7 separate regions of the Homo sapiens genome follow, and all the other regions are linked to region 1. Evidence: promoter capture Hi-C in 16 types of primary human blood cells and fetal thymus (Javierre and others, 2016). All regions are on one chromosome and are shown on one strand. The core of a region is centred on a gene start or on the middle of the fragment in contact, and the rest is flanking DNA. Distances in the headings are between cores, read along the strand shown. Region 1 holds the start of RWDD1 (RWD domain containing 1). Region 2 holds the start of COL10A1 (collagen type X alpha 1 chain). Region 3 overlaps NT5DC1 (5'-nucleotidase domain containing 1). Region 4 overlaps NT5DC1 (5'-nucleotidase domain containing 1). Region 5 overlaps NT5DC1 (5'-nucleotidase domain containing 1). Region 6 overlaps NT5DC1 (5'-nucleotidase domain containing 1). Region 7 has its middle 12 kb from the start of TSPYL1.

Region 1 (2,730 bases), core at 169-2,668:
TTATACTTGCAAAGTTACTTTATGTATTTTATTTGATTGTCATCATAGTTAGGAGACTCCACTTTTTCATTAAAGTTTAAAAGAACGCCTGAAATCAACCCTTAATACCGTAAACACGGAATCAGTATCAAAGTGTTCCTCTGCTATAGGTAAGCAGCACTCCTCAATAAAAGATCAAGGTGCCTTCTGGTGCTTCAGGGGCTTCATCATTAGGAATCTTTCATTTAAAAAGTGTTCCTCCCACTATACCAGTGAAACCAGCTTTAATACAGAGAAATCAAAACAAAGAAAAATACAGAAAAGTGGGCAACAGCTTTTGAGTATTTTCTTAAAATTTTCCATTTTTCGACTTAGCGCAATAATATAATAAAGGAACATGGGATCCTTTATTATTGTTACCATAGTTTTTAATATCATTTTCATAAAGCTAACCATGTTTATTTAGCCATTTTCTTAGCTTTTGCCATCATGGTTCTTTGAAAATTTTCTTTGTAATTGCTGCAATGATTTTGGAGATCACAGATGCATGCTACTTGCTCAAGTTTATTCTTGGAAGTCGTATTACCAAATTAAAGGTTCTCAACATTTCTCGGGGTACTGCAATTTTTACATTGCATATGATAATTGTTATTACTGAGATCTACATTCCTTTCATCAATTCACAAATACACAATCACAGACATCTTGAGATCTATCATACGTCCAGCTGCGTTCATTTCACAAAATCAGAAGTTAAGCCTAAAGATCTGAACCGAGAAGCCGGACCTCCGGTCTATTTCTCCCTCCTGGATCCACCCCGACTTATTAAGCAGTTAGACCGACCCTTCCATACTCATTCAAGGCAGTGCAGAGCTTTTGCTCCCCTGCCCAGTGGAATCTACACTGGTCCCAGCCTCTCGTCCAACTCCCGTAGGACGCCAAGCAATACGGAGTTCGAGAAGCTCAGAAATCTCCTGAGCCCCACCAGTCCACACTAGGTTGCAAGCCCGCAGCACCTACGCCACGGCGTCAAACCGGAAACCAGAAAAGGTGAAGGCATCGGACGCCCCTCGCCCCAGCCCGGCCACCAGCGACACTATCCTTCACTGACGCGCGATGCCGGCCTTTCAGCCCAGACTCATCGAGCGAGGATGCAGCGCTGAGAGGCTTCTAAGGCTCAGGCCCTGCAAAGCCCAGGAGCCGGCTGTAGGTGTCCTTGGCGAATGCCAGACCGCGCGCACCGTCCCAGCAAGTCCCGAGCGAGTGTGGGACAGGCAGCAAATCAGTGCCCCCTGGCCAGGCAGAACGAGTCGAACGTGGAAGTAGGGAGCAGGCGGAGGCCGGCGCGGAGCTGCAGTTAAGCAAGCCGGGTCTGGCTTTGGGCCCTGGGCCTTCCAGCCGGGGACTCTGCGCCTGCGCCCGCCTGGCCGCCGCCCGCTCTCCCGGCGCGGCAGCTGTCTGGGCTGCTGCGCGCCGCCTAGGTGTCTGGGCGATCTATGGGCAAGAGCAAGGGCCACGATGACAGATTACGGCGAGGAGCAGCGCAACGAGCTGGAGGCCCTGGAGTCCATCTACCCTGACTCCTTCACAGGTGACTCCCGCGGCCGCAAGCCTGTAGCCGCCCCGAGGTGGAGTAGGACGGGCAGGAGCTGCCGCAGCTCTGGGCCTCATAGGTTGGGGTGGAGAAGGGGACCTTGAGGCCGCGCGGCCACCTTGCCCTCCACTCCTCAAGTTCTTCAGTCACTTACCAGCAACCCAGTGACTTTTTCTCCTTCTCTGCTTGTTCCCGGAAATCTAAAAGTCCGGGTGATGTTGGAGGGTGTCAGGCCTGAAAATTGAGTCGGGATTACTTTGGTTTCTGTGTAACCTACAGCAACCTGAGATTTATAATACATTAAGAGAAAAAATACTCCAAGTGCGATTCGTTTTTCCACAGCCGCAAGAATGTTAGTTTTCACATTTTTAGCTTTATTAAGGTAGAAACTGTTTTTCATACGATGCTGTTTTAGTTTATAGGATTCAGAGTGCTGTTTTCAGTTACTCAAATCGGTTTTGAGAGTAGCATAGTCCCTGAAGTCTGTCGGGTTTCTTTTCTTATGAAAAAAAAAAAAATCTGGCATTCAGCAGAATGCCTAATGGATAATGTGGCCCAAATTTCCGTTCTGCTATAAATTCATAGGTTGTTAGATTGGAAGGGAGATTAAACATCATCTATCCTGGGGCTCCTGCTCCAAGCCAAGGTCATGGGGGTTCAGGAAAGCTAAGTGGCTTGCTCTGTACTGTCCGCCAGCGAGTTAGCGGCAGGGCTGGTACTGAGTTATACGTCCAGAACGCTTGCCTGTTCTTTCACTTTCCAGACATATGGGACTTGGGATTCAGCTCCAGCTGAGATTGAGAGAGCAGAAGATTACTTGGTAGGTTGGGCTAATGTAAAATATTATAATGAGAAGTTCATTAGGTATAATTTAGAGGACGAGATTTCTCTATTAAGCCATGCTTCGGATGATTATAAAAATGCTACATAACTATATCAATATGGCTCCTCTGAGATTTGAGAAGCGGTCAAATAAAGCCAATATGAGTGAGTAGAACCTAGGTGTGTGCATTTACATTCCCCATCCTTTCCTTTGAGTGTTGCCTATCGTTGATAGTCAGAATTTATAGTGTAAGGTATATTACTTTAACTTATAAATTCCAACCCCTCTCCCTTTCATTGTTTAGCTTAGTTTTCTTGGCTTCACCTTTTGACCA
Region 2 (2,730 bases), core at 135-2,634, 440 kb before region 1:
ATTTTTTAAATCACTTTAATACTTCTAATACTTGAGAAAACTCAAGTATTTAAATCTTTAAAGTTTCTTTCCAAGCAAGTTAACATGGAAGTCCACCAGTAAGCGTACGCTTACCTGCGTGCTGGGAGTTCCTGGAGATGGTGCCTTGGCAGCTTTCTGAAGCTTCCTCTGCCCAGATGAGCAGTGCAGAAGGTGCCTCTCAAGAGCTGTTCAGTGGTATTTATACTGTTTTTCCCTTACTACATGAGGTTACCCTGAGCTTAAGCTCCTCCCCTCAAAGTTGGTAAGCACTAATTATGGTGGAAAGTTCTATTGGGTAGGCACACAAGATCGGGCTGGGCTCTCCTTTTCCTTGTTTTCTTATTTAAAAATAAACCCATTGTCTTAAATATATATTAATAGTTTTAACCAAGGACCGTCTTTGTCTGTGATTCTATTTTATTAATTAATACTCTAGTGTTCAGGCTGGTTCACGGTGGAATGATGATACCCCCTTTTTATTTTTGAAAAGCACATTCTTATGTTAATTGGTTGATATTATATAATATGTGGTAGTACATAAAAGCGGATAAAATTCCTTGAAGGGGGTACTGGATTTAGACCATCATCTAAATTATTGAGTTATTACATAAAGTTATCAATGTGTCTATTAATATTCATAAATTTTTGTGAAAATAGCTGACCCCAATTCTTAATTACTTTTAGGCTTTTAGGATTTAGATCCCTTATTCACAACACTACGCTATATTCAGTAAATGACTTCAGATTTTCTTGCTTAAATTTGGGTTTACTTTAGAGTTGCAGTAGAGTTTGCAAAAACCCCTTAATTTGATAATCTCATATTATGTTAATTTACATAAGATTGCTGTGTTTATTTCAGGAGAAAAAAATTTTCAAACTTTGCTTTCAGCTTAAAAAAAATATTATTGGCTTAACTTGCAGTTAGGAATCATCCCAATTAGAAACACTTTCCCTCAAAGGTGGAAGTAAACACTATTGTTGTCAATTTTGGTAGTTAGACTCTGTTTAACAATATTAGGAAGCCTTTAAAATCAGTTTTTAGGATCCTAAAAAATCTAATAAAGGTGGGAAGTTGAGAGTCCAAATTTTTCATCTTATTTAATTTCATCGTTTTGAATCAAAATCAAATTGACTATGCAGGTGAACTGGTTGAGGAGGACAATTCCATACACAGGCATAGACACATCATTTTTCTACCTCCACAGAATTAAAGTAGTATGGATTCAGGACTAATCAATAATTGAAATAATTGAAAGTTTGACCAGTGAATGAACTAAAGATTTGTCCTTTTTCTTTTCCCTTTCTCTCCCCTTCAAGCAATTTTCTGTATTTTAAACAAAGCCTTGTATAGCCCTTTATGGAAATGTAAATGGATAAGGCATCTCATTGCCTCTCTCCTCTTGCTTGTAAGCATTTTGTTGATTGCCATATTAAAAAAATTTACATTGTTGTATATATCTCTGTATAATACTCATAGATACATATAAAATATGTTTCTTATAGCAGTTTAGAATAACAAAATAGGAAAGTTTATAATTCATCATTTGGAAATTATATATGGAATAGCTTTTGTAATTATAATATGTACTCTGCTACATCTGTAGGAGACTACAAAAGATAAGTGAGAGAAAACACCTGCCTTTTGGCTTATGGCCCATTTGGACACAATTTTGAAAAAGTAGGTGAGGTAACTTTATGGATGCTTTTGAATGCTAGGTTGAATTTGTTTTGAAAGGAATTATTAAAATATATATTTTAATATTTTGTGTGTATATATGGTGATACACATGCACACACATACTGCTATTTGCTTATAATTGAGACTGATACCCTGTTAGTTATCACTCGTGAACGTTCAGAAGACTAATTCTCAGCTCTTAATACATAGTGCTATGCCCCTGTGTATACCATTTGTTCATCTGTGGCTATTGCAACAATTTTCAGAGCCTTTCACTTTAACCTCTCTGGGTGTCTGTTTTTTATCAACACAATGAAAAGTTTGGACTAGGTGGTTTCTAAGCTCCTCCCAGTTTTAAAATTAGATTATTCCTGTGCTTGAGGTATTCTGCTGTTCTCCATGGTCAGATGGTAGACTTGGCTCCAGTTAGTACTTATTAGAGACACAAAAAAATCCATACCAGGAGGTTGTATGTCTTCTTTTAGGGATATGTAAATATATGTGGGTATTTGTCATTCTATACTCCCCTTTAGTTTTGGAAAATGTGGTGTCCTTATTGAATAAGCCTTGGACATTCAACCCTTTTTGCAAATAGTGTACTTATTTCAGCACAAGGAATCTGACTGCTGTTTGCTTTGTTAGTCACATAAGAAGCACTGTCTTGTCCAAAACAGATTGTAGAATCAGAATATTTTCTAGCCACACCCCACCCAATTGTGTATTTAAAACTATTTTTACTCTGGGTGTTTACTTGTAGCTGTTTGAAGTGACTAGTCTGTGGCTTTATGAAGGAAACCCATTCCACTCAAAACAGAGAGCCATACTCTTTAAACTCTATAACCTGAGTAATTTTTTTAAATATCAAATATGAATAATGATTTTTTTCACATCTGGCAGTTAGCTACTATTAAGCTTGCCTATTCATTTGTACATCTGTGGATCGTTAATTAATTCACCTTATGTTTCTTAAGTGCTTCTTAAGTGTTAGACATTAAGATAAATACTGGGTGAATAATATATATTCTATACCC
Region 3 (2,730 bases), core at 77-2,576, 410 kb before region 1:
TTGTATGGCTTTTTATTTTATTTTCTTAGGTGTAGTAGTACTTTTATAAATCTGGGTGCTCTGGTGTTGGGTAATGTATATATTTAGGATAGTTAAATCTTCTTATTGAGTTGAAGTCTTTATCATGTATCATACCCTTCTTTGTCTTTTTTTACTCTTGTTGGTTTAAAGTCTATTTTATCTGACATAAGAATAGCAACCCCTGGTCTTTTTTGTTCCCCATTTGCATGATATATCTTTCTCCACCCCTTTACTTTGAGCTTGTGTATGTCTTTATACATTATGTGGGTCTCTTTTAGGCAGCAGATGGTTGAATCTTGTTTTTCTTACCCAATTTGCTAATCTATCTCTTTCAAGTATTTATGTTCAAGGTTAATATGCATATGTGAGGTTTTGTTCCTTGCCTAATATTGTTAGCTAGTTGCTTTGTAGCCTCAATTATGTAATTATTTTATAGGATGTGTGAACTTTGTACTTACGTGTGCTTTTGTGGTAGCAAGTATCATCTTTCTGTTTCCTTTTAGCATTTTTGGTGTACTGGTCTAGTGGTGACAAATTTCCTTAGCATTTGTTTGTTTGGGAAATACTTTATTTCTGCTTCATTTATGAAGCTTAGTTTAAAAAGATACACGCTTTGGGAGGCCGAGGCAGGCAGATCATAAGGTCAGGAGATCGAGACCATCCTGGCTAACATGGTGAAACCCCGTCTCTACTAAAAAAATAAATAAATAAAATACAAAAAATTAGCGGACATGGTGGTGGGTGCCTGTGGTCCCAGCTACTCGGGAGGCTGGGGCAGGAGAATGGCGTGAACCTGGGAGGCGGAGCTTGCAGTGAGCTGAGATTGCACCACTGCGCTTCAGTCTAGGCGACAGAGCGAGACTCCGTCTCAGAAAAAAAAAAAAAAAAAAAATTATTGGCTGGCATTATTTTTCTTTAAGAAGTCTAAAACTAGATCCCTGTCTCTTCTGGCTTGTCAGTTTCTGCTAAGAAATCTGCTGTTAGTCTGATAGGATTTCCTTTATAGGTGATTTGATCCTTTTTTCTAGTGGCGTTTAAGATTTTTTCTTTAGCATTGACCTTGGATAGTCTGATAACTATATACCTTGGTGATGTTCACCTTATATCATATCTCACTGGTGTTCTGGATTTCTTCCACATGGATTTCTATATCTCTAACAAGATCAGGGAAATTTTCCTGAATTCTTTCTACCAATATGTTTTCCAAATTGCTTACTTTTTCTTCTTCTTTCTCAGGAATACCTATAAATTATAGATTTGGTGACTTCACATAGTCCTGTATTTTTAAAAGGATTTGTTCATTTTTTAAAATTCTCTTTTCTATTTTTGTCTGACTGGGTTAATTCGAAAAATGCCTCTCCTACATCCACAACAGTGGACTGAGGGAGCAGGAGATGACCCCCCTCTACATCTGTTACCAACCACCAGTACCACCCCATTCAGTGATCAGTTTGTACCTGCATTTCCTTTGTCCCAAGGGGGTTCTTAGTGGGCCGCACTTCCCCCTCTTCTAGGGGCAGCCTGTGCTTAGGGCTGAATGTCTGGAAATCCCACAGCTCCCCAGGGACCTGCTGGTCCCCTGTGGTTGTCAAGTCAGAGCAGGTTCTGGGCTATGTTTGCAGGGTACTGGTGATTGCAACAACTTGGGCTGAGATTCCCCATGCAGGGTAGTAGCCCACAATGAATGCACAACCAGTATGGTGTCTGTCCTCTCAGCTCAGGCTTGAGGGGAGTGAGGGGATACCTGCACAAACTAGCCACTCTGTGCTCTGTCCCCAGGAAGATCCTAAATCCGCACTGACAGCATTGCCTGGGGTCATGAAGGTAGAAAGGCTCCCTGACAATTTGGCAGTCAGCAGCTTATTGCAGGGGTGAAGGGAGAAGAGAAGCACCCCAACCTACCCTTCAGGCGGGATTCAGAGGTTCTCGGGAGTCAATCTCTGCGAGACTCTTGCTGCTTTCCTTTTCTGCAACCCCACATCAACCAGTGGGGTCTCCAACAGATCCTGGCTATCTTCCCTAAGCTTTCCATTCAGATCATGACCATTCATCTATGTCTTTGATCTTCTCTCTGAGGATAACTGACATCCAAAATCCCTAGTCAGCCATCCAGATTCCTCCTAACCAACAATTTTGATACATGGTGGTTGGATATTCAGTTCTAATTAAAAACATAAAGGAATGGATCAACCAATCTTCAACAAAGGTGCTAAGAAATCACAATGGAAGAAGGATTTTGTCTTCTGTAAATGGTATTGGGAATAGTGGATATTTGACTAGTAATTGTGATGAATTGCTAGAGGCTGAGTGTTGGGCCATCAGAGAGTGAGAAACTCCTGGCATCGATCTCCATTTACCCAGTTTCCCAGATATTTCCCTTGAGGTTTTCACTGCTGACATCCTTTTCTACATGCTGATAAAAAACACTCTTAAAACCAAGTCAGTAGTGTATTTCAAAAGTTAATTCAGTTATTTATCTAAATCCATGAGAAATTTCTACTAAAGTTTCAGAGACTTTTCATCTTTTATCTAGTAGTTACTTAAATTATGTAAGAGATAAAAATGGTTCCCTGATGTAAACTTCATCACAGTGGTTTCTATTTAAAGACGAAAGGACTGAAATTCTGAAATGTCTGGAATCTGACCTTGAAATGAGAATAATTTTTTGTTATTCAGAATTGAGCCAAAGAATTGAGCCAAGGAAGTATC
Region 4 (2,730 bases), core at 59-2,558, 380 kb before region 1:
CTATTTTGGTGTATTTCAAGGATTTCTTTCAAGATTTAGAGCTTCTTATAGTGGTTCTTGTAGTTCTCTTTTGGTAATGGCAAATTCTCGCAGCATTTGTTTGTCTAAAAAAGACTGTGTCTTCCCTTCATTTATGAAGCTTAGTTTCACTGGATACAAAATTCTTATATGATAATTATTTTGTTTAAGGAGAACAAAGGTAGGACCCCAATGCTGTCTAGCTTGTAGGGTTTCTGCTGAGAAATCTGCTGTTAATCTGATAGGTTTTCCTTTAAAAGTTACCTGATGCTTTTGTCTCATAGCTCTTAAGATTTTTTTTTTTTTTCATCTTCACTTTAGATAACCTGGTGACTGTGTGCCTAGGTGGTGATCTTTTTGCGATGAATTTCCCAGGTGTTCTTCCCAGAGCTGCTTGTATTTGGATGCCTAGATCTCTAGCAAGGCTGGGGAAGTTGTCCTCGATTATTCCCTCAAACATGTTTCCCAGACTTTTAGATTTCTCTTCTTCCTCAGGAACACCAGTTGTTCTTAGGTTTGGTCATTTAACATAATCCCAAACTTATTGGAGGCTTTGTTCATTTTTATTTAATTCTTTTTTCTTTGTCTTTGTTGGATTGAGTTAATTTGAAAGCCTTGTCTTCGAGCTCTGACTTTTTCTTCTACTTGTTCGATTCTGTTGCTGCGAGTTTCCAGTGCATTTTGCATTTCTCTAAGTGTGTCCTTGACTTCCAGAAATTGTGATTGCTTTTTTATTTATGCCATGTATTTCACTGGAGATTTTTTCATTCGTATCCTGTATCATTTTTTTGATTTCTTTAAGTTGGACTTGTGCCTCCTTGATTGACTTAATAGTTGATCTTCTAAATTCTTTTTCTGGCAATTCAGAGATTTAGTCTTAGTTTGGATCCATTGCTGGTGAGCTAGTGTTATCTTTTGGGGGTGTTAACCATGTTTGTCATATTACCAGAATTGTTTTTCTGGTTCCTTCTCATTTGGGTAAACTATGTCAGATGGTAGATCCGGGACTCAAGGGCTACCGTTCAGATTCTTTTGTCCCACAGGGTGCTCCCTTGTTGTGGTGTTCTCCCCTTTCCCCTAGAAATGGCTCCCTGAGAGCCAGACTGCAGTGATGCTATTTCTCCTCTGAATCTAGCCACCCAGCAGAGCTACTGGGCTTTGATCTGGTACTGGGAAGTGTCTGCACAGAGTCCTGTGATGTGATCTGTATTCAGGTCTCTTAGCTGTGGCTACCAGCACCTGCTCCAGGAAAGGTAGCAGGGGAGCGAAGTGGACTCTGTGAGGGTCATTAGTTGTATTTTTGTTAAGTCCAACCAAAATTTTAACAAGTTTCTTTATAGAAAACTGAAGCTCATGCCACAATTTATATGGAAATGAAAAGGGCCATGAAGAGCCAAGACACTCATGAAGAACAGGGCAAGAGGGTCTGTCCTACAAGACACTAGCAAATAATTCATGGCTTATTTTAAAGTTACAGTAATTTGGTCAGAGTGCTTTTGGTATAAAGACTGACAACTAGAAGATCACTGAACCGGAGATGCCAGAAAAGACCTTTGCAGTTGTAGACACATGCTTGATGACAGAACAGGTACAGCAGAGCAGTGGGGAAAGGACTGTCATAAAGGGTGCCTGGAGAGTTGGAAATCTATGTAGAAATTCATAAAACTTGATCCCTACTCACATATTAGACAAAAATCAATTTCACATGGATTATAGAAACAAATATGAAAGGCAAATCAGTAAAGCTATCAGAAGAAAATCTGAGAAAAATAGCTTCATAGCTTAAAGATAATGAAATATTTCTTAAATAGGATAGAAACAGTATTGATTGATTGTAAAGGAAAAGTGAATAAATTTGACAAACATTAAACGTCTCTCTTCATAAAAAATTACTAAGAACGAAAGGGCAAGTTATAGAAGAGAAGATATTTGGAATACATATAATGATAAAAAGACTTTTATCTAGTGTAAAAAAGACCTATAAATCAGTAACAGGAAGACAGCAACCCAGTAGAAAATGAACAAAAGTCTTGACAGGCAGTTTACAAATAGGGAACTCTAAATGGCCAATAAACATGAAAATGTGCTTATGCTTATTAACAGTCATGAGAGTGCTAATTAAAGTTCAATGAGGTACCACTAGATATCCATCAGAATAGTTGGAATTAAAGAATCTAGTGATTTCAGTGGTTGGTGAGGATGTGAAGCAAAGAGAACCCTTAAACTGCTGGTGGGAGTGTAAATTGTTGAGTTGGTTTTGAAAATTGTTGAGTATTATCCTATAAAGTTGAAAGTGAGCATTCCCTATGACACAGCCATATTAGGCTGCAATATATACCATCCAGAATGTTCTTAGTGGCATTCACTATTACACCAAATTAGAGACAGCCCAAATATCCCTCAATAGTGCAGTTGCTATGCAGTGTGTCATACAGTGACATTCTATTCATCAATGAAAATGAAGCTTTATGAACAACATGAATGAATCTTAAAAACAGAAAATGAGAGAGAAAAAGCCAGTAATACAGGATATACATATTCTATGGTTGCATTTATAAAATAGATATTAAAATGGGTTACACTAGAGCATAATTAGGTAGTAAAGCCAGAAAAGTAAGGATGTACCATAGATATGAGGATAGCAATTACCTTTCAAGGGTGGTATCAGAGGACTTCTGGTATCCTGGAAATTTTCTACTTTTTTTTTTTTTA
Region 5 (2,730 bases), core at 118-2,617, 370 kb before region 1:
ATTCTGAAAGCAAACTCAGTGTAAATATTAAGATTAGAAACGCAGATATGCAATGAGCCAGCCGTTTAACATTTATAAGCCCTAAAGAAGTACTCATATGTATACATGGACTCAGATACAATGTTGTTTACTCCAGAATTTATAATGAAAAAAATCACCAAAGTACTGTTGTATTCATATGCTGGATTGCAATGTTGTGGTTAAAAAGAATGAAGCGTTTCTAGAATGTAAGGTCTATGAGAGAAAAAACTTTGTCCATGTTTTCAACAAGTAGAACAATGAATAGTGTGTAGTAGGTGCTCAGTAATTATTTGTTATAATTACATGGCTAGATTTAAGTACGTGGCTAGATTTTGAAGTCATTTTTTTGGGTGAGGAAAGCAAATTGCACAAAATGTGTACTAGAAAATACATGTATATGTGTGTGTAAGTCCATAACACCTTATTGGAAAGATACACACCAAAATGTGAACTACATATGTGTGTATGCAAGTCCGTAGAAATTTATCTGAAAAGTATACAGTGCAGAAGTGTCCAAGCAAATAATACATTCATGGGTTCTTAGTTTCTGTTTCTGGTTAGGCCGGTAAAACCCCTTCCTCATCCCTCTTTTCTGCTTATCATTACAGACAGAAACTAAAAACCATGTCTTCAGGCTGCTAAAAGCCTAAAACAAAACAAAATAGAACAACAACAAAATAAGCTGGGCTGGACAAGCTTGGTGTGACACTAAAATGACAACAATGATACTAGGGACCAGAAACTGAGAGTACTATTTAGAGAAGACTTCAGACTTTTTTTTTATGTTTCAAAATTTAGAACATATATTTGGAAATTTGGAAGTGTTCACATATCTTACTTGAGTAATTACGAGATAATTTTAAAATAACATTTAACCTTAGAAAGATAATTTCCCTGTTATCTGGTAGGTTGGAACTTAACTGAGTCAGCAGCTTCTCCCTCTGGAGCCCCACAGTCTCTACACAGATATACAGAGCATCTGATCTTGCTAGACCTAGTCTTCCCAAAGGAAATTCCTTAAATATGTGGAATAAATTGGGGGGGAAAAAAGGCTGTTCAGATATTTTATACATTTCTTTAAGAATAAACCAGCTGTTTGTGTAGTTTCCGTCTTTATTCTGATTTTGTATTAAAAGGGTACATTTTAAATTTTTCACTAATTGTATTTACATCTTTACAACAAGGCTGTAATATGTCTTAATAAAGGGGATAAAACAATAAGATTAGTAGATATGACAGTAAGGAATGTGTAATGAAAAAATCAAAGAGACCAAGATTTTCATTCCATCCTGCTGTTTTCCTCATTATGTCATGATGATAGGCAAGTCAGCCTCTCTAGGCCTCATTTTCATATCTGCACAATGAGATTAGGTTTTGTGGTCCCCAAGGTTCTAATAGCTACCCCAAGTTTCTCTGCTCAGTCCTTTGAGAATGATCTAATAGACCATTGGACCATCTAGCCCAGTGTTTTTTCCTGGAAGTAACAAAAAGTAGAACCACCCTGCCTCCTGCTCAGTAGGACTTTTAGGGTTTTTTCATAGCATATGTTTCAAAATATGTTTTGAAGGTAAGTAGCATTTTGATAAGGGAAATCTTGCATTTTGGGCCCATGCAGGGCAATTCCATGATGCAGTGTGGCCCATAGCATTTCGTGGTTAATCAACTGCCTGTACTTAGGCCAGAGGAACTTGTTAAAGTAAAAATAGCTCTAACACAAAATTTTTACTATGTGTAAAGCATTGTGCTAAATGTTTCACATATATCATTGCATATAATTCACACAATTACCTAATGGGGTGAGTGTTATAACTGTGATCATTTTATAGATAAGCCAACAGTCTCTCAATGACTAAAGCACTTACCCAAGGAAATTGCACAACTAAGACTTGACTCAAGACTGTCTGATTTGGGTCCATACCACCCAGGAACACTGGAGACCATATCCTGTAATATACTTTTATCTGTGTGTCTACTCTGGTACAGAACTTTGTGCTCTGAAGCTTTTCAGTAGAAATGGAATAGCAACTCTCCTTACATCAACAGCAACAGCTGTTTCTTAATGAAGTCACCTGCAAATTATGAATTTCTTTCTGCCATCCCTCCTACCCTGCTCCATAATGATTTAATTTGCTGGCATGAGACATTTAGATAAAGTTCCTTTTGATGTTTTAAATGGATTTTATATCTGGAGGGCAAAACATTTTCTTTGCCATAGTTTTTAGATAAACTGTTAATTGGTCGAAGTCTAGTGCAGTTTCCTCTTTACTCACATTTTTCTTCATTGAATACACATAGGGCATTTAGTGTTTATTGCTAACATTTGCCAAATAATTGTGTGCAAAATATTTGTCTCATTTAAATTGGATTTTAAATGTTTTCTTCTTGTTTATTGAGTAATTCTAGAATTTAAAGTTCTCTGGATTTATATTGACATCTTTCCTTTTAAAAATAAATAGTCTGATCACTTATGTCATATGCTTTCTTAACAAACTTTTTCCTAGGTCAAAAGAATGTAATTTTTTATTAGAAAATAGTTTCATTATTACAATATTGTTTTATTCAGATCCTCTGGGAGCTGATATCTCTGCATTAATAACTATACCTATTCCCTGCCTACAGCAGATTTCTTCCACTTTATTCTGAAAGATTGAAGGTATGCACTCAATAAATGGATCATATGTCTTAAGAAATCATGGGAAAAAATATTTC
Region 6 (2,730 bases), core at 130-2,629, 350 kb before region 1:
CGTCCCTAGTAAGATAACTGTCGTGGTTTGGTCCAGAGCGACAGTACTGGAAATGGAGAGAGGTAGATACATTTAAATACATTATGGAGTTGGAAAACACAGAGGGCTCGGTGATACTTAAAGAAACAGCAGACAAAAAGAAAGGAGTAATAAAAAATAACTTCCAGGTGGTTGATTTTTCTTTTTCCTCAAATGAGCAAGTGAGTAGATGGTGGTACCATTTACAGACTTGGGGAAAAATACAGAGGATAAAGTTGTGTGGAGTAGGGGTTATATCTGTTAAGAACTCATTTTTCAACATGTTAATTTTGAGATGCCTATGAGTTATGTAACTGTCACTATCAATTAGGAAATTGTATAAATATGCCTGGAGTCCAAGGGAACAAGTCTAGGCTCAAGATATGTATTGGGAGTAATCAGCTCATAGATAGGTATTTGAAGCCAGGGGATTATATGAAACCAAATATTGAGAGAATGTAGATAGGCAAAAGGCCTGGACCAAGCCCTGACATTCTCTAATATTAAAGATAGAGAAGAAAGAGTGCAGTGTGGCAGCAGATAGATTATAGTAGGGAAAACAGTAGAATACGTGTTCAGAAGCCAGAGGAAAGAGGAAAGGGTAGCCAGCTAGTCCAAATGCTACAGAAAAAGTCCACTGAAATGAGGAAGGAGAAATCTTCCCTGGGGTGGACAAGATGGAGATCACTAGTGCCTCAGTGAACAGTTGCCATAGAGTGGTGGGATAGAAACTAAATTGCAGTATCTTGAGTAGTTCATTGGAGGTATGGAACCAGGGTATATGTGCAGCTCTTTCTAGAATTTTAGCTCTAAAGGCAGTCAAAGAATTGAGGTTTTAGCTAGAAGACAGTGTAGGATTAAGGGCATATTTTATTTTTTTAAGATCGAAGATACTGGAATATGTATATGTGCTGATGAGAATGATCTGCTGCAGTGGTTTTCAACGGTGGCAGTTTTGCCCTTCAGTGCAAATTTGGCAATGTCTGGAGACGTTTTTGGTTGTCGCAACTTTGGAGGGGGGTGGAGGCTGGGTGTGCTGCTAAGCAGCCTACAGCACACAGGACAGCACCCCCCAACGACGAAGAATTATCTAGCCCCAAATCTCAGTAGTGCCAAGGCTAAGAAACCCTAGTCTAGTACAAAGAAATAGGTTGATGTTGTTTTTATATATTGGTTTAAAGTCTTATATAATAAAATCCTTGATATTAAGAAATAATCTGTTATCAAGAATTCTAATAATATTCTTATAATTAAACCAGAAAAAAATTTAAATGTTTTTCCCTACTTTACAAACTTACATTTAAATATATAAGTAAGTACCCAATAAATATTTGTTTTTATTTTTATTTTTGTGGGGTTTGCATATTTTGTTCCAAGAAAATCTATACCCCTTTTATACCCATAGTAGTATTTATGCCATTCCATAAGATTTTTATTAAAATTTCACACAAAGATACAATTAATGGAAAACTGCACGTTAAAAATATACCAAGTTTTTTTTAACATGTTGGAAATTATAAATGCATTAAATATGCTGACAATTTACAGCATTTTATGTAGTTTTTCTCTATTTAATTGAGAGTATCCTGAGAAAAAGGGTGGAGTTTTTAAAAAACGATTACTTTAGAAGTACCTATCTTAAGACTTCTGTGCAGTATTTTCTGTTAGTTGTATAGTACAATTGGATTTGAGGGCTGACATAATAATGATGTTTATCCAAACTATATATTTTTAAATATTATACTCATCAAAAGACTTGAAAGTCTTTTTGATTGAATTTATGGTATGGAAATATTAGGAATCTAAACTTTAAAAATAAGCACATCCTGATAATAAATATACCATTTTAAAAAATTGTTTTACATTTTGGGTTGTATAAACACTTAGTTTTTTAATTTCTACTTTCTCTAATTTGTATTTCATTTATTTTTTAATTGACAAGTAAAAATTATATATTTATGTTGTACAACATGGTATTTTGATATATATATAGATTGTAGAATGGCTAAATGATACTATTTAAATAGGTATTACCTCACATTATCATTTTTTGTGTGTGTGGTAAGAACACTTAAAATCTATTCTCTTAGTAAATTTCAAATATACAATATATTATTTTTAACTCTGCATTTTGTACAATATATTTCTTGGATTTATGGATTTATTCCTCCTACCTGAAATTTTGTGTCCTTTGACCAACATCTCCTAATACCCCTACCCCTAGCCTCACATAACCACCATTTTACTTTCTGATTCTATGAGTTTGGCTTTTTTACATTCCAAATGTAAGTGAGATCATATGGTATTTGTCTTTCTGTGCCTGGCTTATTTTGCTTAACATTGTGTCCTCCAGGTTCATCCATGTTGTCACAAATGACAGGATTTCTTTCTTGTTAAGGTCAAATAGTATTCCATTATGTATATATACCATATTTTCTTTATCCTTTAATCTGCTAATGGACATTTCGGTTGATTTCATATCTTTTGTGAATAATGCTGTAATGAACATGGGAGTGCAGATAGCTCAACATACCAATTTCATACATTTTGCATATATACTCAGTATTGGAGTTGCTGGATCATATGGTAGTTCTGTTTTTAATTATTTTGAAGAACCTCCACACTTTTTTCCGTAATGGCTAAACTAATTTACAATCCCACCAAGAATGTACAAGGATTCCCTTTTCTCCACATGCTCTTTAACACTTATCT
Region 7 (2,730 bases), core at 113-2,612, 280 kb before region 1:
TCCCAGAGATATCAGGTGACTTGCCTAAAGTTACATGACTAATAAGTAATGGAGTATGGATATAAACCCAGTTTATTGGCTTCAAAGCTCTTTGTACTATGCCATGTTGCTTTTCTGATTTCTTGAAATCTTTGACAGTAACCGGGGAACTCAAGGGTTACTGCCACCTATTTTCTAATAACTTCGTTTTCTTGGATCTGTATCATTAGTGCCTAGCACCTAGAAGATTCTTAGGCAGTGTTGGCTGCATTGATTGAATGATTCCACACTGATGGCTAGCTTAAACAGCCATGGAAACTTTAATTATAATATATTAATCTAAACAGGACATATGGTTTTTAGGAGTTAAGTGCCCTCAGGGGAAGCATTTACTAAATGTGGGGCACATTTTAAAAGTAATATCTCCTGCTACTGCTGATATTTCTAAATTAACAGTATTTCTAGATTCTCAGACTTGGGGTTCAGAGATTTCACTTGCTGATTAATTAATTCAAGGATATAAGAGCTCTAGCAAATAAATATTTTATTAATTTGTACTGTTCTACACTCAGGAGCAATTATTGAAAATCAAGGTTTGTTATCAGGAAATACATGAAGTCTTATTTGGAAATAATTCCTTAAAACTCATCCTGAGAAGAGACAATCTGCATCCTTCCCACTTAGTATATCATCTACCCATTTGTGGTCTCTCATAATTGGAAATATTTCCCTAATTCCAAAAGCAGAAAGGAATCCTCTTAACTGCTAACTTCTCTCCCAAAGGGAGAAACTTTTTCCAGCCAACCTCAGTGAAATTGTTGATTGAATGCTGATCCTAGAACTGCATTATGAATGCAAAAAAGTAAACAAAGCACCCATTCTAAGTTTGCTCAATTTTCTGGCCACCACTGTGCTCTGCAATGTCATCTGTAGCACAGAAGATTGGAGGCGTAGACTTGAGACCAGACCACTTCGTCTGTTCTTTCCAAACTCTCTAAATTCAAAACATTTGTTGAGGTTTATGCAGGACACAAGAGTTGTGGGATGGCATACAAAAATCTGAAAGTCATGGACTTTGTTCATTAGGGACCACAGTGTTGTGGAGAAGATAGACACAGAAACACATAATTATAATACCAGATGAAACAAACAATTATAATACCAGATGATACCAATAATTATAATACTAGGAGAGTGTTGTTCCAGCAAGAGAGATGTGGACAAAGGGCTTTGGGTGCACAGAATAGGAAATTTGTATTCCTATATTGATAAGAGAGCTTGGTAAGAATTCAGAGGTGATAATTTTGAGATGAGTCCTAATAAGAAAAATAAAATTATAATAAGAGAGAGGGGGTGAAAATTCCAGGTTGACTAAAATACCCTGAACAAAGACTCAAATACAAGTAGAAGTCCAGCCAGCTTGAGGAAATGACTGAAAGATAGGGAGATTAGTTGGGGGTGATGGTTAGGTAAAATGGAATCTGATAGTTAAAGGCTTTTTATTATACATTATTATATGTTTATGATATATTAAATATAATTATATATATACATATTTGTTAATCCTATGGGTATTAGAGGATATTGGAGGCTTTTAAACAGGGGATTGACATGGACAGTGTCAGAAAATAATATTAATTGCCATATGGAAAATGATGTGAAGGTTATATGATTAAAGGCTGGGATATCAGTTGTGAAGTATTATAAAAATGCAGGCAAGGGTAGATGAGGATATCTTTAGGAATGTAGTAACTGACAACAGAATATGTCAGATAAATTGTAGAACCAATTGAAAAACTAGATATGAAAGTAGACAAGAAGTTAAGGAAGACTGATTTGTTTAGTTTGGGTAACAAGGATGGGTGGAAATGTGATTGAGTTATGGAATACAGGAAGAAGATCGGGTTGTAGTGGGAGGAGAGATCAACAGTTCAGCTACAGACAAGGAGAGTTTCATGTGACTCTAGGGAGATGTTGGGTATTTGTAGATCAGATAGATTTGGGTATTTGTAGAGCAGGAGAAGAGTGGGGTTTACAGTTAGACTTGGAAATCTTGAGTGTTTAGGTGATAGTTGACATCATCAGAGTGGACGAGAACACCAGGAAGACAAGTAGAGGAAGAAGAAAGGAAGGCCAAAAATAGAGCTCTGAGGAACACTGACGTGAAAGAAACAGATGAGGTGGCACAAGTAGAGGAAACTGAGAAATAGCCATTAGAGGTAGGGAAAGAACCAGAAGAGTGTTGTTTCAGTATGCAAGGGAAGAATGGACTTCAGGAAGCTAAGGTTCAAGGGATGCAGCCATATTGAGTGAGATGAAGACTGGGAAGAAAAGTTTCCGAATTGGGCGGCAGCTATACAGCATGGGTGTCTTTAGTGAGAGCAATTTCAGAAAAGTAGCAAGACAGAAAAATTGCAGAGTTGAAAAAATGAATGATAAATGAACATATAGATAGTGTGTGAGGCCAGTTCTTTCATAATTGTCAGTATAGAAAAGGGGAAAGACTGGATGACAAGTTCAAGGAGATGCAGGGTTGAGGGAAGAATGTTTGTAGGGAGCAGCATTGTTGGGAGCAGAGTAAGGATCTGATTATTACACTGAAGTGTTGAGGAAGCAAACAAACAAAAAAAAAGAAAACAAACTGAATGTCAGTAAGTAGAAGAAAGGTTGGATAAATTATGGCATGTTTATACAACTGAATATTACGTAACCTTTAAAAGGAATAAATTGGATCCAAAGTAGTGACCTGGA

The links. Contacts are between HindIII fragments. The CHiCAGO score rates a contact against its expected background, and 5 or more counts as called.
Region 2: a contact is called between a fragment that was not itself captured here and the fragment with the promoter of RWDD1 in region 1, in 1 of 17 cell types (total B cells). The highest score is 5.4, in total B cells.
Region 3: a contact is called between a fragment that was not itself captured here and the fragment with the promoter of RWDD1 in region 1, in 1 of 17 cell types (total B cells). The highest score is 5.1, in total B cells.
Region 4: a fragment that was not itself captured here is called in contact with the fragment with the promoter of RWDD1 in region 1 in 2 of 17 cell types (total B cells and naive B cells); the score reaches 6.9 in total B cells.
Region 5: a contact is called between a fragment that was not itself captured here and the fragment with the promoter of RWDD1 in region 1, in 7 of 17 cell types (neutrophils, total B cells, M1 macrophages and 4 more). The highest score is 10.2, in neutrophils.
Region 6: a contact is called between a fragment that was not itself captured here and the fragment with the promoter of RWDD1 in region 1, in 14 of 17 cell types (naive B cells, total B cells, fetal thymus and 11 more). The highest score is 19.4, in naive B cells.
Region 7: a contact is called between a fragment that was not itself captured here and the fragment with the promoter of RWDD1 in region 1, in 15 of 17 cell types (naive CD8 T cells, total B cells, fetal thymus and 12 more). The highest score is 17.6, in naive CD8 T cells.

What each region holds. Positions count from the first base shown.
Region 1 is chr6:116,570,086-116,572,815 of GRCh38, forward strand. RWDD1 (RWD domain containing 1) reads left to right here and starts at 1,419. Exons shown (of 7, transcript NM_015952.4): 1 at 1,419-1,570. The coding sequence starts at 1,498. RefSeq lists enhancers at 814-993, 1,024-1,353, 1,574-1,673 and a silencer at 1,394-1,473. The HindIII fragment of the contact is 4,586 bases long and covers 1-2,730 here.
Region 2 is chr6:116,125,939-116,128,668 of GRCh38, forward strand. All of the region lies in intron 6 of NT5DC1 (5'-nucleotidase domain containing 1), which reads left to right. COL10A1 (collagen type X alpha 1 chain) reads right to left here and starts at 194. Exons shown (of 3, transcript NM_000493.4): 1 at 115-194. RefSeq lists a silencer at 2,228-2,522. The HindIII fragment of the contact is 2,449 bases long and covers 161-2,609 here.
Region 3 is chr6:116,164,206-116,166,935 of GRCh38, forward strand. The region is part of intron 6 of NT5DC1 (5'-nucleotidase domain containing 1); the gene reads left to right. It also overlaps a transcript of COL10A1 not described here. Among named protein-coding and RNA genes, the nearest start is that of COL10A1, 39 kb to the left of the region's middle. The HindIII fragment of the contact is 1,434 bases long and covers 610-2,043 here.
Region 4 is chr6:116,185,991-116,188,720 of GRCh38, forward strand. All of the region lies in intron 6 of NT5DC1 (5'-nucleotidase domain containing 1), which reads left to right. It also overlaps a transcript of COL10A1 not described here. Among named protein-coding and RNA genes, the nearest start is that of COL10A1, 61 kb to the left of the region's middle. The HindIII fragment of the contact is 2,343 bases long and covers 138-2,480 here.
Region 5 is chr6:116,204,542-116,207,271 of GRCh38, forward strand. The region is part of intron 6 of NT5DC1 (5'-nucleotidase domain containing 1); the gene reads left to right. It also overlaps a transcript of COL10A1 not described here. Among named protein-coding and RNA genes, the nearest start is that of TSPYL4, 48 kb to the right of the region's middle. The HindIII fragment of the contact is 1,304 bases long and covers 716-2,019 here.
Region 6 is chr6:116,224,902-116,227,631 of GRCh38, forward strand. All of the region lies in intron 8 of NT5DC1 (5'-nucleotidase domain containing 1), which reads left to right. Among named protein-coding and RNA genes, the nearest start is that of TSPYL4, 28 kb to the right of the region's middle. The HindIII fragment of the contact is 5,275 bases long and covers 1-2,730 here.
Region 7 is chr6:116,290,071-116,292,800 of GRCh38, forward strand. It overlaps a transcript of DSE not described here. Among named protein-coding and RNA genes, the nearest start is that of TSPYL1, 12 kb to the left of the region's middle. The HindIII fragment of the contact is 6,300 bases long and covers 1-2,730 here.